Regions from separate parts of the Homo sapiens genome. Here region 1 is linked to region 2. The links are contacts of gene promoters, found by promoter capture Hi-C in human tissues and cell types (Jung and others, 2019). All regions are on one chromosome and are shown on one strand. Each heading gives the region's core, a stretch centred on a gene start or on the middle of the fragment in contact. The rest is flanking DNA. Distances are from core to core; before and after follow the strand shown. Region 1 overlaps ACE (angiotensin I converting enzyme). Region 2 holds the start of KCNH6 (potassium voltage-gated channel subfamily H member 6).

The links. Contacts are between HindIII fragments. The study calls those that stand out against the background at their distance.
Region 1: a contact is called between a fragment that was not itself captured here and the fragment with the promoter of KCNH6 in region 2, in 4 of the 25 tissues and cell types used here (IMR-90 fibroblasts, lymphoblastoid cells, mesenchymal stem cells and 1 more).

The regions. Positions count from the first base shown.
Region 1 is chr17:63,486,247-63,490,138 of GRCh38, reverse strand. It overlaps ACE (angiotensin I converting enzyme), which reads right to left. Exons shown (of 25, transcript NM_000789.4): 14 at 3,424-3,582; 15 at 3,066-3,153; 16 at 1,348-1,491; 17 at 1,007-1,198. Among named protein-coding and RNA genes, the nearest start is that of ACE, 11 kb to the right of the region's middle. RefSeq lists an enhancer at 3,146-3,646. The HindIII fragment of the contact is 4,675 bases long and covers 1-3,892 here.
Region 2 is chr17:63,521,996-63,526,022 of GRCh38, reverse strand. KCNH6 (potassium voltage-gated channel subfamily H member 6) reads right to left here and starts at 2,665. Exons shown (of 13, transcript NM_001278919.2): 1 at 2,534-2,665; 2 at 1,654-1,884. The coding sequence starts at 2,609. The HindIII fragment of the contact is 20,898 bases long and covers 1-4,027 here.

The DNA.
Region 1 (3,892 bases), core at 723-3,222, 35 kb after region 2:
GATGAGTGATGGAGAGAACATGAGAGAGAAGAGGGAGAGAGCCAGGGAGAGAGCCAGAGAGAGAGACAGAGAGCGCATCAGTGTTAGGTTGCTCCCCTTTCCCCTTTTACCAATTGTCAGGGGCTGAGTTCTAAGGCCAGCTCTGCCCCAGCTCCCAGGCCACGCTGGGCATGTTGCTTTTCTTCCCGGGGCCTGTGTCTCCCAGTTGGTGAACTGACGTCCACTGTGACATCACCAGATGTTCTTTGGTCTCACCAGAGAGGGGCTGAAGAGGGCTGGACTCCCAGCCTGTGTGGGAGCTAGACCCACAGCCAGGCCGTCCTCTGGGGCCTCCCTTATAGTTTCTAAATGGTCTGAGGGCCTGTCTGGTCTCTCTGCTCCAGGAAAGTGTTCCTAACAGCCCATCAGGGACAGAGAACCAGTAGCCTCTGCTTTGCCTTACTCCCTACCATCCCTTACTGTCCTCACCGCCTACTTCACACATTCAGGGCATCTGAGATTGCAGCCCTTGGCAAAGGAGGGTCCAGGGTTGAAGTAGATTTACATTCTCAGGTTCTTCTTTGTTCCAGTTCCCTTGGCCTGAACACTGCGTCTGTCCTCTCATCCCCCACTTCCCATCTGTCAAACCCTGTCATCTTCCGAGGCCCTGCTCACAGGCCACCTCTTGGCAAAGCCTCCCCAGCTCCCACTCACAGCCTCTTCCTCGCCCTCTAAGATCACACAATGTTGTGATGGGTGCCGTGGTCTCCTGGACAAGATTATTAACTTCTTCCCCCATCCATGGTGACTTGCCCGACATAGATCTGCAGTGAATGTGGCACCAGATGCAAGTGGGGGGCTCCCCACTCCCAGCGCCCACCCCCCTCCAGCCTGGGCAACCATCCCCCACAGGGCTGGAGTCTCTCAGTCCCCAGCCTGCTCCCTACCCTCTAGTCAGCCCTGTCCCAACCCTCACTCACACTGTGGTCCGTCTTTACCCTCCTCAAGGCCCGACATGTGCCCTTACCCAGCAGGTGAGCAGGAATGGGCCCCTCCAGGTTGATGTGCTGGGCCCCGTAGTGACGGTGCAGGGCCCGGCGCACGTAGGCATGCAGGTTGAGGTAGAGTGGCTGCAGCTCCTGGAAGAGCCGCTCCAGGTCTTGCTCCAGGGATGGTGTCTCGTACATAGACCTCCACGAGTCCCCTGCATCTACATAGCCTACAGAGGGGACACAGCCAGGCTCTCCCAACACCACATTACCTGCCTCCTCCAGGGATCTACCTTTTCCTAGGCTTGGGGTTTCACAGCACCTCTTTGAGGAAAATGAAGGGACCCAAGTGCCAGTGATGTTGGCAGCAGGGACTCACCATTGAGCCGGGCAGCCTGGTTGATGAGTTCCACGTATTTCGGGTAAAACTGGAGGATGGCTCTCCCCGCCTTGTCTCGCCAGCCCTCCCATGCCCATAACAGGTCTTCATATTTCCGGGACGTGGCCATCACATTCGTCAGATCTGGTAGGGGTTTGAATGCCTTGAGCTCCAGCCCTTAGCTCACCTCTGCTTGTAAGGGGAGCTCAGAGAATTTCAGAGCTGGAATAAAATTGGCGAAACCACATAAAAGTGACTGTATAGGCAGCAGGTCTAGAGAAATGGGAGAAAGGATGGGAGTGGCTCTCCAGCAGTGGCTTACAGAGTCCCCGGCCTGGGGCCACATGCTGCAGACACCTGCAGGGCCTCAGCAGTCCTGTGAGGGGCGTGCTTGAGTCTCTCTCCTCTCCTTTTTTTTTTTTTTTTTTTTTCTGAGACAGGGTCTCACTCTGTTGCCCAGGCTGGAGTGCAGTGGCGCCATCTCGGCTCACTGCAGCCTTGACCTCCCAGGCTCAAGCAATCCTTCCATCTCAGCCTCCCTAGCAGCTAGGACTACAGGCATGCACCACCACATCCAACTAATTTTTTGTATTTTATTTGTAGAGACGGGGTCTTGCTGTATTGCCCAGGCTGGGCTCAAGCGATTCTCATGCCTCAGCCTCCCAAGTAGCTGGGACTACAGGCATCTACCACCACGCCCAGCTAACTTTTGTATTTTTAGTACAGATGGGGTTTCACCATGTTGGCCAGGCTGGTCTCAAACTCCCGGCCTCAAGTGATCTACTCACCTTGGCCTCCCAAAGTGCTGGGATTAGAGGCATGAGCCACCACACCCGGCCAGCCTCCCCTCACACTTGGCATGGGTACCCACATCCACAACTTGTAGGCCAAACCCTGTCCTGGGAAAACCGTTTCTCCTGTTTATTTTCCATTTCCCCTTCTATTTGTCATTGTTCTAATGTGGGAGCTGGGCTGGGGGCCAGAAAGACCCATTTCTGGGTGGAGATTCCTCATGGAAGCAAGTTTATGCCTCAAGTTCTCCAACCCTGGAAAGGGTGGGTTGAGAGGGAGCTGGGAGGTATCTGTGTGCGGGTCCTTGTGTCGGGGGTGAGCTCTTTCAAACGGGCCGGGGTAAGAAGGACCAGCCAGTGGGGAGAAAAGAGGACAGTCAAGAGCTGTCTACTTCTATCCAGTAGGAAGTGGCAGGGTAGGTGAGGGAAGTGAGAGGAATCAGAGGCTCAGGTTCTAGTCTGGCGCTTTCAGGGGCTGTGTGACTCAATTTCCTTATCAGTCACATGCTGGGAGAGGGGCTCAGGAAAGACAGAGAAGGTGAGGAAGTCAAGGGCAGGGTCACGAAAGGAGGCCGGGGGGAGCTAGTGTCCCCGAGTTCCCCCCATTTGGAGTCCAAGCCCATGAAATATAACTTTGAGATCCCGCTGCTCTGAGGGGCGGCATGCAGAGAGGACAGGAGAGAGTGGACACCCTTAAGCAGAGGGCGGTTCTGAGGGAGGGGCAGCTGATCGGGGCATGGTATGAAGTAGGTGCCGGCTCTCAGTGGGGCAGAGAAGCCCCCCTCGTGGAAAACAAGAAAGGGCATTTCCTGGGCACGCTGACCCCAAGAGCGAGGGGAACCCAACTCTGTGCTCTCACCCAGCACCCCCGGGCCCCATGCCAGTCCCAGCCCTCGCCTCTCACTCAGCCTGCACATGAGCTCTCACCTGGCTCGAGCTGCAGGCAGCTGCCATTCGGGTGGCACACAGTGGCCACGCTGTAGGTGGTTTCCATATCCAACAGGATCTTGTTGTACTGCAGGAGGAAGGAGAGGCAATGAGCTGTACTCCTTTGCACTTGGTCTCTCTGGGGCCTGCACTACCCCCAGGCCCCATGGGCTGGCAGGTGGGGAGCCAGGGAGCTGGGGAGCGCTGCCCTCTCAGCAGTTCTGAGGTGCACATCGCATGGCAGATGCCATGACTTGATACAACGAGGAAGAGGAAGCAGCGTGAAGGCCAGGCCAGACCCTGTGTTGGGCTCACTGCCCCAGGATTCCCCTCTCCCTGTACCTTGCGAGCCACACACCTCCTCCAGCTCCTGGGCAGGCAGTGCTGCCCGTTCTAGGTCCTGAACCTTCTTTATGATCCGCTTGATAGTGGTGTTCTGCAACTGGTTCACATCAAACTTCCTGGCCTGGGTGCCGTACTTCAGGGTGTGGTTGGCTATTTGCATGTTCTTCTGCAGCTGAGGGCACAGGGGGATGGTGTCACAGGGCCCAGGAGCTCCAGAGCAGCCTCTGAGCGGGAGGCCCCAAGTGGGAGCTGAGGGCTGGAGGTGGTGGTGAGGGGGCAGTGGAATTAAGTTGCAACCTTTGCCTATAAGACTCTCTGCAAGCTGGACGCTGATAACGTCCTGGATGCAGTACTCACCCTCCCTGGATGCCTGCGGTCAAGCAACACATATCCAGGCAGGGGCAGAGAAGAGAAGACCCCCAAGTGTCGTAAAGGCCCTTAGGAAGGAGCCAGCTTGGTATTAGCTCTGTGGCCTTTCTGAA
Region 2 (4,027 bases), core at 1,416-3,915:
CAGGGTGCTGAGGGGACCTCAAGAGCCATCACCTGACATCCCTAGGAATCTGGGATCAGGTATAGCTCTAGTGTCAAGGAGAGGAAAAGAAAGGACCTGCTGTAACCCCCATTTCCTGCTGTCCCATCCTGTTCCCCAGGACCCTTCTCACTCCCCTGACTGCCACCTCTCCTCTGCAATGATGTGAGGAGGTGAGGTCACAGCTTTTAAAAATATTCTGAGTTCATTAACCCTGTGAGTACTGCCACACTAAGCCAGATTCTTCCCAGTCCCTTCCTGGCTGCCGCTGCCTGTTGCACTTCCCACTGCCACTCACTCAAGTGGCAGCAGCAGGAACAACCAGGACCTACCCGAGAAGCTGTAACTCTGAGAAGCCTGCAAACACACACACACAGGCGTGAACTTGCAAGCACACACTCACACACAGAGGCACACACATGCAAGCACACACATGCTCATGTTTCACACACTCCAGGCCCCTGAAACCTGGTCTCTCAGCACTCCTCGGTCCCGATCCAGAGACATCCATTCTTTATCTCCACTCAGGTGGCCTCATGCCTGCCTTCCCTGGGGACTTCTCTCCCCTGAGCACCTCCTTCCCCAGAAATCCTGCCTGTAAACACAAAGGCAGCTGGGGTCCTTTCTCTCCTCTTGGGATTACTCAAAAGAAATCTCCGAGGGAGGAATCCAGAGACTTGGGTTCCAGTCCCAGGTTGGACTCTAGCAGTGGGATCTTGGGCAAATCCCTTCCACATCTATGAAATGAAGGGATTTACCTAAGCCAGTGGTTCCTAAAGTAAGCAGGACATCAGAACCACCAGGGAGATATTTCCAAATACACCCGCTTGGCCTCATCTCACACCTTCTGAGTCAGCCTCTCTGTAGAGAAAGCATGTTTTGGAAAACATGCTCTGGGTAATTCTGATGCAGAACCAGGTTGGGGGCCATTGATTCAAGAGATTTCCCAGGACATTCAGGCTCTTTTCCTCGTTCCCACCCATGCTGCCAGGTCCAGTGAGGACCCTGTGGTCCTGGGGGGTGGGGGAGGATTTCCAAGGGCTGCTGAGATCTGTCTTCAGCTCCTGACTTACGCTTCTGTTCTGCTTGCAGTATGCTCCAGCTGGCAGTAACAACCCAAACTCCATCTGAATGAGCTTCTTGGTCAGGGAAAACTCCAGACCCTGTCTCCCCAAAGAGCTGAGACTGGATAAGGCAGGCCCACCCCACTTTGCCAGCCAAAAGCCCCCATGCCTTGCCTGGCCACAGAGGTCTTCAGGAGGTGACTCCTCCTCTAATCCTTGGAGCAGACGGAGAGGAGGGAAGGTTAATTTCCATCCCAGCTGCCTGACCGCTGGGGCTGACAGTAAGATAGTGGAGAGCCAGGAGACCAGGGACACAGCAGAGGGATGGCAGAGCAGGAGGCCCTGCCCCAGGCCAGAACCAGTGGGTGGCCCAGCCTGATCCCTAGCTCCTGCAAAGGACCTCAGAAGGCATCATATCCAATGCCTGTGGAGGAACCAAGGCCCCTAGAAGAAACAGGGTTTGTTCAGGCCCTTTGGACCCTGGGTCAGTGCCTTCCCCAAGGCCACCCTGGCTGGACAAGACAGAGGGCCAAGCCTGCCCTGCAAAGCCTCTGGCCTGAGTATGCCTCACCATCCTTGCGGTAGTAGAGGATGTCCACCTTGCACTCCTCAGCCCCCAGCAGGGCCTGCGCTAGGCGGGACACGGCGCTGCTTGGTGTGTTGGGGCCTGTGAGGAAGTCGCAGGTGCAGGGTTGCTGCATCACCTCCACTCGGGAGTAGCCGAAGAGTTCGCAGAAGCCGTCGTTGCAGTAAATGATGGCGCAGTTCTCCATCTGAGCATTGGCAATCAGGAACTTCCGACCTGGGGTGGGAGGTGGGAGGCAAAAAGTCCATGGGAGCCAGGATCCAGCGGCTGGGAGGGAAAGATCATAAGGACTCTTGGTGGCAGTAAGGGGAATTTAGGCAGAGGAGCAGGGCAGTGACCGGAATGAGGGAGGGAGTCAGGCCTGGGGATTGTGGGAAGACTAGGGCAGTGAGGGTCTTGAGGTGGAAGGAAGGCCCAAGGCCTCCTGGAAACAGGAAAAGTGTGGGGAAGGGAGGCAGGGATGTGACCAGATGGGGGTCAGGCCTGGGAAAGCTCCTGGGAAGACCAGAACCAGGATATGAAAAGGAAGGAAAAGAAGGACTCAGAGAAGCCTCTGGAGGACGCGGATGAGGGGGCAGGCAGTGGCTGGAAGGGGAGGTTCGAACTTGGGGCACCAAGGAAACAGCTGGCAGTAGGGAGGGAAGGCCTGCACGCTGCTCCTTGTGTTCCAGAAAAGAGGACAGCATTTAAGGCAAGCGGGTCCCCCTGGAGGAGAAGGTGTTGGGGACATCAAAAGAAGGATTTTTCATTCAGCACCCGGCACTCACCACCTTGCCCGGTTAGAAGTTAGTAAAGGGGTCCAGCCCCCCCTTTCACGGAACCAGGACTCCAGATCGTCCCCCCGCCCCAACATACACACACTCACTTTGGCCCTCGAACTTGCGGATGATGGTGTCCAGGTAAGTGTTTTGGGGAGCGACGTGGCCCCTGCGGACCGGCATCTTTCGGCCGCGGCCCCTGCCCGGAGCCACAGGCGCCACTGGCTCCCGGCGTCTCCGTCTGTCCTCGGGCTCAGCAGCGTCCGGCTCCGGTGGGCGCCGCCCCCGGGGAGGGCCGCCGGGCTCCGCGCCCCGCCCGCCAGCCTGCGTCTGCCCTCCCCTCCCCACCCCTGCCCCACCTCTCCTTTCCTTTCCTGCGCTCCCCTGCCCTCCCCTCGCCTCCCTGGCCCGCGCCCTCCTGGCCTCCTCTCCTCTGCGCCGGCCCGGGAGCTGTCCACGCCTTGGTGCTGAAAGAAGCCGCGCGCCGGCGGCGGGGAGGGGGCCGCTGGGCGGGGCAGTTTCTCTGGGACCCGACGGGGCTGGGGCGGGGCCTTGCATCCTACGGGGCGGGGCGGGGCGGGGCGGGGCGGGGCTGGGGTCCTGGCCCTGGAATAGGGCAGGTGTTCTCTGAGGAGCTGCTTCTGTTCCTGTCCTAAGGGCCAATGGCCTCAGCACCTCTCCGATTCCCTCCCAGTACCAAAGGGCAGTCTCCCCTCCCAGTGCAGGGAGTTTCCCAGGCAGGAGGGGGGCTACAGATGGGGTTGTTAGGGGCCTCAGGTGGTCTTTGGCTGAAAGCTTTCTTCCGGGTCTGACCACTGGGCCCGACCCTGGCAATGATACCATTAGGCCTCTGGCCTGCTCTTATAGCAAGTGATCTCCAGCTCAGCTGAGACCTAGGTCCCATGCAGAGCTCCTGCCGCCAAGTCCAGCCAGGGCCTGGTCCTGAGAGGAGGGGGTAGGAGTACACATGAAGACGTGCAAGAAATATGCAATAAGGGCCAGGCGCGGTGGCTCACGCCTGTAATCCCAGCACTTTGGGAGGCAGAGGTGGGCAGATTACCTGAGGTCAGGAGTTTGAGACCAGCCTGGCCAACATGGCGAAGCCCTGTCTCTACTGAAAAAACAAAAATTAGCTGAGTGGTGGCGCAAACCTATAATCCCAGCTACTTGGGAGGCTGAAGTGGGAGAATCGCTTGTACCCGGGAGGCGGAGGTTGCAGTGAGCCGAGATTGCGCCACTGTACTCCAGCCTGGTAGACAGAGCGAGACGCGAGACTCCATCTGAAAATAAAAAGAAAGAAAGAAAGAAGTATGCAATAAGATGCCTTCTTCAGAGGCCTGAGAGCTCTTAGCATACAGGTACATCTTGGAAGGAGAACAGATTTAAAACCACCTATTAGCAAGTGACCACTGATAAAAGTGTCTGAGTACTGAGTACTGACTGAAAATGAACACACTAGAAAAAGCAAATGGGGGTGGGAATAGGTTTATTGAAAGAGGCTTCCTGGAGAGGAAGGGGAGAAGGGGACTACTGTTCACTGAGCATCTGGGTGGGCTTGTAGTGCTGCAGAGGGTTTGGTGAGCAATTTTGAGCCTGATCTT